Regions from separate parts of the Homo sapiens genome. Here all the other regions are linked to region 1. The links are contacts of gene promoters, found by promoter capture Hi-C in blood cells and fetal thymus (Javierre and others, 2016). All regions are on one chromosome and are shown on one strand. Each heading gives the region's core, a stretch centred on a gene start or on the middle of the fragment in contact. The rest is flanking DNA. Distances are from core to core; before and after follow the strand shown. Region 1 holds the start of BACE2 (beta-secretase 2). Region 2 overlaps BACE2 (beta-secretase 2). Region 3 overlaps BACE2 (beta-secretase 2).

What was found. Contacts are between HindIII fragments. The CHiCAGO score rates a contact against its expected background, and 5 or more counts as called.
Region 2: a contact is called between a fragment that was not itself captured here and the fragment with the promoter of BACE2 in region 1, in 2 of 17 cell types (naive B cells and total B cells). The highest score is 5.4, in naive B cells.
Region 3: a contact is called between a fragment that was not itself captured here and the fragment with the promoter of BACE2 in region 1, in 1 of 17 cell types (total B cells). The highest score is 5.7, in total B cells.

What each region holds. Positions count from the first base shown.
Region 1 is chr21:41,166,144-41,169,577 of GRCh38, forward strand. It overlaps BACE2 (beta-secretase 2), which reads left to right and starts at 2,017. Exons shown (of 9, transcript NM_012105.5): 1 at 2,017-2,432. The coding sequence starts at 2,121. It overlaps MIR3197 (microRNA 3197), which reads left to right and starts at 1,414; the gene lies at 1,414-1,486. RefSeq lists a silencer at 1,576-2,025. The HindIII fragment of the contact is 3,467 bases long and covers 616-3,434 here.
Region 2 is chr21:41,231,442-41,234,660 of GRCh38, forward strand. All of the region lies in intron 2 of BACE2 (beta-secretase 2), which reads left to right. Among named protein-coding and RNA genes, the nearest start is that of PLAC4, 48 kb to the left of the region's middle. The HindIII fragment of the contact is 529 bases long and covers 1,274-1,802 here.
Region 3 is chr21:41,274,629-41,277,940 of GRCh38, forward strand. It overlaps BACE2 (beta-secretase 2), which reads left to right. Exons shown (of 9, transcript NM_012105.5): 9 at 743-3,312. The coding sequence ends at 996. Among named protein-coding and RNA genes, the nearest start is that of FAM3B, 41 kb to the right of the region's middle. RefSeq lists an enhancer at 1-1,144. The HindIII fragment of the contact is 225 bases long and covers 1,168-1,392 here.

The sequences.
Region 1 (3,434 bases), core at 767-3,266:
AAAATGAAAAGCTTAGGAATACTCACCCTAGACTGAGTCACGCGTTTCTTGTACAAACTTTAATTAGACTTGATTTTTTAAAAATTTCCCTTGTGGCTTTTAATTATTAGACAGAGCAAATGTCTCTAGTATTAAACTTATATGTCACATAGCCTCTTTATCAATGGCCCTAATACATTTCATGTGCTTTTCAGAAAGATTATATTCTTCCCAGAGCTGTCTGAATGTCTTTTTGAACCCCTCAAGACTGGACACCAAGGAGTATAAATAATCATTTTAAAAAAAATCACATTCCCTCCACAACCTTGAATCTGAAACGTGAATATATGAATAGAAGGGCTCTGGAATAACTATGCAGATTTATGGAGAATATCAACTTAAGTTATATCACGGGATCCAGCTATGCCTTTCTTCATGGAGTTGGGGATTTGTTAAAGTTGAGATATAGTTTGGGGGAAGTGTGATTTATGGTTAAAGTCATCTGAAAATCAATACATTTGAAGATCTCTGACATAAAGGTCCCTTGCAGAGCTAGACGTGATTCTAAAATTGGGAACACAGGAATAAAAATCAAATCTTGAGTAGAAGTAGCTGAAAATTGCAGTGATTCGGGGAAGCTTGGCTTCTAACTCCCCACTGTTTGAAGATGGGCTTGTTTGTTTTTTAAAACAGCCAACATAATTCAGCTGGAGGAGGTACAAAGAATTTTCTATTCCTTGTTTCTGTAGAAATCGATGGACTTTAGCTTGTCTAATTGTCCCCCCTGCCTTTAGTATCTAAAATAAAATAACCCTCGTTGCTTGCATTACTCAACGCATTTCTGCGTCTTGGCGTCTATGGCTAAACGAGTATTAATTAGACAGTCCGCAGAGAGCTGGCTGGGGATAGAAGGGGAGGTGGGGGAGAAGGGCAGGGATCACAGCAGGGTGGACTCGTGGCCCTGATTTGGGATCCTGACAGCAACTTACTAGGTGGCCTGAGGGCTGGGTGCCAGGGGAGGCAGCGGGTTCCAGTAGCATCTGACCTGCATTAGGGACAGGGGCGCGGCGGAGGGGGCGAAGGGGGCGGGGGTGGGGGGAAGGTGGCTGGGGTGAAGCCCAGCTTCGCAGCTAGCTGTGGGCAACAGAGGGAGTAAGGGGGGGCAATGAGGCTGGGGCCAGGCGCCAGCAGCAGCCACGCCCCCCACCTCCCCCGATTTTTAGGGAAAATTCTCCAAAGCTCTCGCATCCTCCTCTGCCTCCTTCCACCCTCCACCCTCCCAGCCTCCACTGAGACCTCTTTAAAACCACCCAGGGGCCGCCGGGGGATGAGGCCGGGGAACGGGCTGGACTGAGGGCGGGGGCTCGGGGGCAGCGGACGGGAAACGCCTCGAAAGCAGCCAGACCCGGCGACTGAAATGAGGCGGAGGAGCTTGGCGAGGGGAGGCGCAGGCTCGGAAAGGCGCGCGAGGCTCCAGGCTCCTTCCCGATCCACCGCTCTCCTCGCTGACCTCCGAGTCACCCCCGGAAGCTCCCGCCACTGCCGGGCGAATAGACCCCCGCGGACCCCCAAGCGCGCGGGGCCGGGGCCCTAGTTCAGGCCCTCGCTGCCCCTTTAAGGGTTCTCGAAACTTTCCCCCCGGTATCAGATGAGCCTCGTCACATCCGTTGGCCGTGGCCGCTGGGGCGCTTTCCGAGGAAATTCGGGACTCGAGTTTCCCGGGGAAGAGGCGCGGCCTGAGCCCGGCGAGGGTGGGGAGGGCAGGCGCAGGTGGACCCCGGCGCCCCCCGAGCCCCGCTGTGACCTTGGCCGCGGGGGAGGGGCTGGGCCGCTGCGGGGCAGTCGCGGCCGCCAGAGGGGGCAGCGGAGAAGAACTTGCCCAACTTGGCGGCGCGGGCTGGGGCGGCTCTGCGCCTCCGCGCCCGCCTCCCCGGCCTCCGCCTTCTCCCCTCCCGCGAGCCTCCTCCCCTCCCGCGAGCCTCCTCCCCTGGGCCCTCCTCCCGTCCTCCCCGCCGCCGCCGGTCCCGGTGCGCGCCCATCCCTGCCCGCAGCCCCGCGCGCCGGCCGAGTCGCTGAGCCGCGGCTGCCGGACGGGACGGGACCGGCTAGGCTGGGCGCGCCCCCCGGGCCCCGCCGTGGGCATGGGCGCACTGGCCCGGGCGCTGCTGCTGCCTCTGCTGGCCCAGTGGCTCCTGCGCGCCGCCCCGGAGCTGGCCCCCGCGCCCTTCACGCTGCCCCTCCGGGTGGCCGCGGCCACGAACCGCGTAGTTGCGCCCACCCCGGGACCCGGGACCCCTGCCGAGCGCCACGCCGACGGCTTGGCGCTCGCCCTGGAGCCTGCCCTGGCGTCCCCCGCGGGCGCCGCCAACTTCTTGGCCATGGTAGACAACCTGCAGGGGGACTCTGGCCGCGGCTACTACCTGGAGATGCTGATCGGGACCCCCCCGCAGAAGGTAGGGACCCCCGGCTGCTGCCGCGGGCTTTTCGGGCTCGTTGGAGGGAGGGGGCTGTCCAGAGACGCCTCCACGCGGCTTAGCGTCGCCCCCAAAGCAGCAGCTGTCCCCGCACAGAAGAGCGGGGAACGCAGAGGGGCTCGGGTGGGCCGGGGAGCGGGGGCGCTCGCTCTTGAGTCGCGGAGGACGGCAGCCCCCGCCCGGGGCGCACTGAGGGGTGTGCGCGAGTGTTTCAGAACTTGTGAGCTCCCCCTCCGCGGGGCTGGGCGGGAGAGGAGACCTGGAACTTGCCGCCTCCAATAACGTGATTTCCTTCTTGCGGGCGACACCTACTTCCAGCGGGAGACGGAGCGGTGGGCCTTGGGCGACGGGCTATTATGGGGAAAATCACCTCGTGTTCATACCCTCCCTCCCCCCCGCCCCCCCCCCACCCCACCACCATGCTGTCTCATTGCTAAAGAGGCTCGTGGCCGGCTTCCAAAGGCGCAGTACCCTTTAAAAAGGATTTATGCATGAGCTCAGCTAAAAGCAACCCGGTTAAGAAGTGGCTCGCTTGCTGCTCTGAGGAAGGAGCAGCGTCTCCCCTGCGCCCGCTTTCCTTTCTCGGAGTTGGTTTGTCAGCTGTGTCCTCGCTCATCCGGCGGCCCTGCCCCTCTGCACGGAGCGATGCATCTACACGCGGGTGTGCAGAGTGTGAAAAGCATTCCAGCTACCGGGAAAAAAACAGGGGCTGAGTGAGGTGTCCGGGGACCAAGTGGTATCCCGATTACAACACAAAAATAAAATCAAACAGCTTTCCTTTTCTCTTACTCTGATGTTCATTTACTAACACTTTTTGTAGCAAGAAACAAATGTTCCCAAGCACAGTGATCTGAAAAAAAAAAAAAAAAAATCCCAATTGATCTGCCCCCTCCTACTTTCAAACTGTCTAATCCAAGTGGGATTTGAAGTCCTTTGCTCAATTGAATGCACTATTTGAAGATAGTTTATTTTTATTTTTAA
Region 2 (3,219 bases), core at 288-2,787, 65 kb after region 1:
CAGCATTCCCTGGGTCGAATGGCTTAGGAGAACCAGAGCTGACCCAAGGATTGAACTCTAGAATTCTGCACATCCACCTTCTCTTTTCGTGTTCTCTGCAACCAACAGCAGGTTTCTTTTGAAATAATAAAACGTTCTGTAGCTCTTTTCCCCTCAGTTCAATTGATTTCACTTTTTAATCCTGCATTCCCTGAGCACTCTTATCAGAGGCAGAACATCTTCTGAATTTGGTTCAAAGTGTTTTTATTACTGTGAGCAGGCTTTTTCCTGGCCACCCACATCCCTGATTGATTGCTGTTTCTGAGCACCCAGAATGGACATTGCCAAGGAGAAGCCCATCCAGGTTTCTTGCTCCATGTATTTAATTATTGTGCAGAGCAATTGAGAGCCAAAGCATTTTAGTCGCAAGAGGTGGGACGTTAGAAAATGAAGATGAAGGCATGTTTTTCATTTAAAGTGCTGGAAACTCTACGCTAATAATAACCCCTAGAGTCACTTATGAATGATTCTTCTCTGGGGTTTTACTCAGAGGTTTAGTTCAAGGAACCCAGAGAATATGAATATGAACTGAGAATTACCTTTTTTTTTTTTTTTTTAACATTATCTAGGACTGTGCTTTCTACAAGGCTAGCCACAAGTCACATGTGGCTATTTAAATTTAAATGAATGTTAAATAGAAGTTCGGTCTTTCAGTTGCACTATAATCGCATTTCAAGTGTTCATTAGTCACAAGCGGCCAGCGTATTGGGCAGGATATTTCTGTCGTCACAGGAGGTTCTGTTGGACAGCGCTGGTGCAGGGCAGAGAGGAACTCTGCCGTTTAGACACCGGTTGCACAAGAGCTTGAAGCGTCACCACCTCGCCTTGACCTCCTTAGCTGAGACACCCCACACACACTTGCTCCTTTCATGGGGTGGTTGGACTTTAGAATGAGACAGCTTTAGATTCAGTAAGAGTAGCTCTATAGGAGCATTTTCCAGAAAACAAACAAACAAACAAAAACATCCTGATGATATGCTTTGGGTGCAAATCTCATGTTGAAATGTGATTCCCAGTGTTGGACCTGGGGCCTCAGTGGAGGCATTTGGGTCATGGGGACAGATCCCTCATGAATGGCTTGTTGCTCTCATCAAGGTGATGAGTGAGTTCTTGCTCCGTTAGTTCACATGAGAGCTGGTTGTTTAAAGGAGCCAGGCACCTCCTCCTCTCTCTCTTGCCCCAGCTCTCACCATGTAATGTACTGTGTCCCCCTTCGCCCTCCACCTTGAGTGGAAGCTTCCTGAGGCCTCACCAGAAGCAGATGCCAGCAACATGCTTCATGCACAGCCTACAGAACCATGAGCCAAAATCATACCTCTTTTCCTTATGAATTATTCACCCTTGGGTATTCCTTTATAGCAATGCAAACATGGCCTAACAGACTTGAATTTTTTTTTTTTTTTTTTGAGACAGAGTCTCGCTCTGTTGCCCAGGCTGGAGTGCAGTGGCACGATATCGGCTCACTGCAAGCTCCACCTCCCGGGTTCATGCCATTCTCCTGCCTCAGCCTCCCGAGTAGCTGGGACTACAGGCGCCCGCCACCACACTTGGCTAATTTTTTGTATTTTCAGTAGAGACGGGGTTTCACCGTGTTAGCCAGGATAGTCTCGATCTCCTGACCTCATGATCCACCTGCCTCGCCTCCCAAAGTGCTGGGATTACCAGACTTGAATTTTCTAATAATAACTCATAGCCTGAAAAAAGGCAGCAAATGATTAATTATAATAATAGCAGCTATTTTGTGGCATATCTCCTGTGTTCCAAGCTTTTGTTCTACATGCTTTACAATATTAACTCTTTTAATCTGCATAATTAACTTCACGAGGGATGGTATTATATTATCACCATTTTTTAGTTGAGGAAACCGAGGCATAGAGAAATAAATAACTTGGCCCTGGGTCACACAGCTAATAAGGGATTGAACTCATATTTGAACCCAGGCAGTATAACTCCAGCTGCCTCTGCTGTCTCTGGAAATGACACCAAAATATCCAGAGTGCTCCCTCTGTAAGGAGACCAGCAACCTGAGCAGGAAACTAGAGAAGACATGCTAAATAGATATGCAGGCTGGTTCAGGTTCTTACTAACACTACAAATTCTACAGAGTTTTCTATAGCCTGGACAGAGTGAAACTAAACTTTTCAAAAGGAAGTCATAGCATTTTAGACTGTTTAGGAAAGATACAATTACTCTACCAGGGCTGGGCAAGGTGGCTCACGCCTGTAATCCCAGCACTTTGGGAGGCTGAAGCAGGTGGATCACCTGAGTTCAGGAGTTTGAGACCAGCCTGACCAACATAGTGAAACCCCATCTCTACTAAAAATACAAAAATTAGCTGGGCATGGTGGCATGCGCCTGTAATCCCAGCTATTAGGGAGGCTGAGGCAGCAGAATCGCTTGAACCCAGGAGGCGGAGGTTGCAGTGAGCTGAGATGGCAGCATTGCACTCCAGCCTTGGTGACATAGCGAGACTCCATCTCAGCAACAACAAACGATTACTCTACCAGACCAGGTAGTATGGTTTGGCTGTGACCCCACTCAAATCTCATCTTGAATTGTAGCTCCCATAATTACCATGTATTGTGGGAGGGACCCAGTGGGAGATAATTGAATCAAGGGGGCGGTTTTTCCCCATACACTGTCTTCGTGGCAGTGAATAAGTTTTACGAGATCTGATGGTTTTATAAGGGGAAATCCCTTTCACTGGCTTTCATTTCTCTCTTCCCTTCCCCATGTAAGACATGCCTTTCACCTTCCACCATGATTGTGAGGCCTCCCCAGCCACGTAGAATTGTGAGCCCATTAAACTTCTTTCTCTTTATAAATTACCCAGTCTTAGGTATGCCTTTATCACAGTGTAAAAACAGACTAATACACCAGGAGTTGGCAAACTCTAGCCCATGAGCCAAATCTGACCTGCTGCCTGTTTTAGTAAATAAAGTTCTATCAGAACACAGCCATGCAGCTATGCAAGTTTACTTACACATTGTCTGTGGCTGCTTCCACATTACGTTTGAGAGCTGAGTAGTTATCACAGAGATCCCATGGCCTACAAACCTAAAACGTCTATTATTTGTTTCTTTATGGAAAGAAATTGCCAACCTCTGTTCTAGATCCTATTCTCCAAGCATTTCAAGATAATTAGTCTTTGTATATTTCTGAACTTGAGGAATGAACCCA
Region 3 (3,312 bases), core at 30-2,529, 110 kb after region 1:
TTCCTTCTTGGTTTGAAGTTATTCAAGAGTCTCTAGCAGAAGTCACCGGGTGAATTTTAACTGTTTCTCTTTGTCACCAGTGATGTCATGAATTAGGTGTTGCATTCACTTACTGCTCCTGGCTGTTGATGAGACCTAGGATAAGAGTGGGGCAGGGAGGGTCTCTCAAGCCAGCCTGACCCCCGGAGGTCTCACAACCCACTAAGACTATGAGTCAGGTTGATATGAGGTCCCTATCTGTTGTAGAATCCATGGTAGGGAGTGAACTCAGGTTGACTCCACTGGGGAAAATTCCCCATGACGTAGGCAGGTCCAGCTGAGCTTTCTGCGGTAAATTCTCCTTCTCTTTCTCCTCTTTTTTCATCTCCACTGAGGAAGCACAACCCACACAGCTGTCATGACCAGGTGCTGACCTGCACTCTCACCTGTGTAGTACCGCAGTGTCGCTGGCATTCCATGAAGCACAGGGTGCTTCCATATGTGCCCTGCTGCAGTTCCCCTCCACACCTAGGCTCGGTACCCACACACCTTAAAACATGCCGTCGTTCCAGTTTGCAGGGACTGGACCCCCAAAGGCACGCTGAGCCGTGACCCCACTCAGTGCTTCCTGAGCTGTCTAAGCCACTGGGACCTCAGTGGACTTTAACTGTGGTTTAATAAACCAAGGGGTTCTGTCTGTGTCCAATGTGAGAGGTGGACCGCTCATTTCACAGCTGTGGATTTTCCCTTTCTGTCTCCCCAGAAATTGCAGGTGCTGCAGTGTCTGAAATTTCCGGGCCTTTCTCAACAGAGGATGTAGCCAGCAACTGTGTCCCCGCTCAGTCTTTGAGCGAGCCCATTTTGTGGATTGTGTCCTATGCGCTCATGAGCGTCTGTGGAGCCATCCTCCTTGTCTTAATCGTCCTGCTGCTGCTGCCGTTCCGGTGTCAGCGTCGCCCCCGTGACCCTGAGGTCGTCAATGATGAGTCCTCTCTGGTCAGACATCGCTGGAAATGAATAGCCAGGCCTGACCTCAAGCAACCATGAACTCAGCTATTAAGAAAATCACATTTCCAGGGCAGCAGCCGGGATCGATGGTGGCGCTTTCTCCTGTGCCCACCCGTCTTCAATCTCTGTTCTGCTCCCAGATGCCTTCTAGATTCACTGTCTTTTGATTCTTGATTTTCAAGCTTTCAAATCCTCCCTACTTCCAAGAAAAATAATTAAAAAAAAAACTTCATTCTAAACCAAAACAGAGTGGATTGGGCTGCAGGCTCTATGGGGTTCGTTATGCCAAAGTGTCTACATGTGCCACCAACATAAAACAAAACCAAGCCTTGGCTCGTTCTCTTCTCTCTTCAATCTCTGGAAAAATAAGTACATATAGTTGATAACCCCTCTTAGCTTACAGGAAGCTTTTTGTATTAATTGCCTTTGAGGTTATTTTCCGCCAGACCTCAACCTGGGTCAAAGTGGTACAGGAAGGCTTGCAGTATGATGGCAGGAGAATCAGCCTGGGGCCTGGGGATGTAACCAAGCTGTACCCTTGAGACCTGGAACCAGAGCCACAGGCCCCTTTTGTGGGTTTCTCTGTGCTCTGAATGGGAGCCAGAATTCACTAGGAGGTCATCAACCGATGGTCCTCACAAGCCTCTTCTGAAGATGGAAGGCCTTTTGCCCGTTGAGGTAGAGGGGAAGGAAATCTCCTCTTTTGTACCCAATACTTATGTTGTATTGTTGGTGCGAAAGTAAAAACACTACCTCTTTTGAGACTTTGCCCAGGGTCCTGTGCCTGGATGGGGGTGCAGGCAGCCTTGACCACGGCTGTTCCCCTCACCCAAAAGAATTATCATCCCAACAGCCAAGACCCAACAGGTGCTGAACTGTGCATCAACCAGGAAGAGTTCTATCCCCAAGCTGGCCACTATCACATATGCTTACTCTTGCTTAAAATTAATAAATCATGTTTTGATGAGAAAAAACTATTCTATTTCACTAGCTTAGTTGTCTCTTTTTCCAAATCTTCTCTGGAAGTAGGTTGGCTATTACCCTGTTGGGAAACAGGGAAATGGCCTGATGCCCCTATTTCTGACCAGCTGTCAGGGAAGGAAGATGCAAGATGTGCAGAAGACACAAGGTAACGTCTACTTATCCCCGTGCTTCGAAACCGTGTGTTTCCCTTTGCAGAACTGGTTAGCCTCAAGCATACCCATCCAATCAGCTTAAATTGTTCAGCAGTTGACCTCTGTGCTTCTTCCTTTGGGGGTGTTTAATCTTTGGTAACAGTTGTGCAGTGGTAGCCTTATTTCGGGGGGCAGTCCCTACTTTCTGTCACTTATCGAGGCCTTTGCCAAAGAAAAGTGGAAGCCGTTTCCTTGACATAGCCTTATATGACCTGATGTCATTAGGAGAAGAGTTAAAAGACAGTATCCCCTCTCTCCTGCTTGTGTGCCAAGTTCAGTGTTCCCTTTGCATTTTTTTGGGGTGGGTTGGCTATATTACAGAATTCCACCAAAAGTGCTAAGTGTCCCCTCCTGCAGAAGTATCGTTTGTATTCACAGTAGGCTACGTGTGGATGTTTCAGCCATCTGCTCTGCTCCCTGGGTCCCCGGGTCACCACCATACTGAGAAATATAGGACTCTGCCAAAGAGACGTGGAGGCCACGTCGGCTTGTCATGGTGTCCTGGAAGACTCTCCAGCAGCCAGAAGAACCTTCTGTGCTGTTTTCACTAGAGAAGATTTGAGTTGCAGCCTCTTGGAAAGAACATGACGGCACGGAACGGGAGGAGGGGGCTCTTGTATCAGGGCCCGTTGTCACATCCGCTCTCAGCTTGTTGAAAACTCATAATCTCAGAATGCATTTCACACGGAGAGATGTCTGGAAGTCCAATTCTCATCCCATTGGCTTTTTCCGTGGTTGCTGTTTTGTGGGCCGCTTTGCACAGGAGTGAAGCCAACACCCCTAGATTGTGCCTTCACCCTTGCTGTGAAAAATTCAAAGCCCTGAAATAAGAGGAGGGAATCGCAGACATGCCCTGATTAGTTTTCCTGCTTATTTCTTCATACAGGCATCTTCTGTTCCGTTGTATTGTGTTAGGTTTCAGAGGCGGGGAGCTTCCTCCTGCAGCAGATGAACAGGCATAGTTCTTAAAATACAGGAAAGTAACAAGTGAGGTTTCCAGGTAGAGTAGGTGAATGAAGTTTGCCGTCATGCTCTGTATTTCATATCAGATTTCTTTATCTTTTCATATCGCATGTCATTGGATGTGACATTTTGATGAAAATACTGAAACTACAAAAGCATAACTTCGCAACAAGAATGAGATAGACAA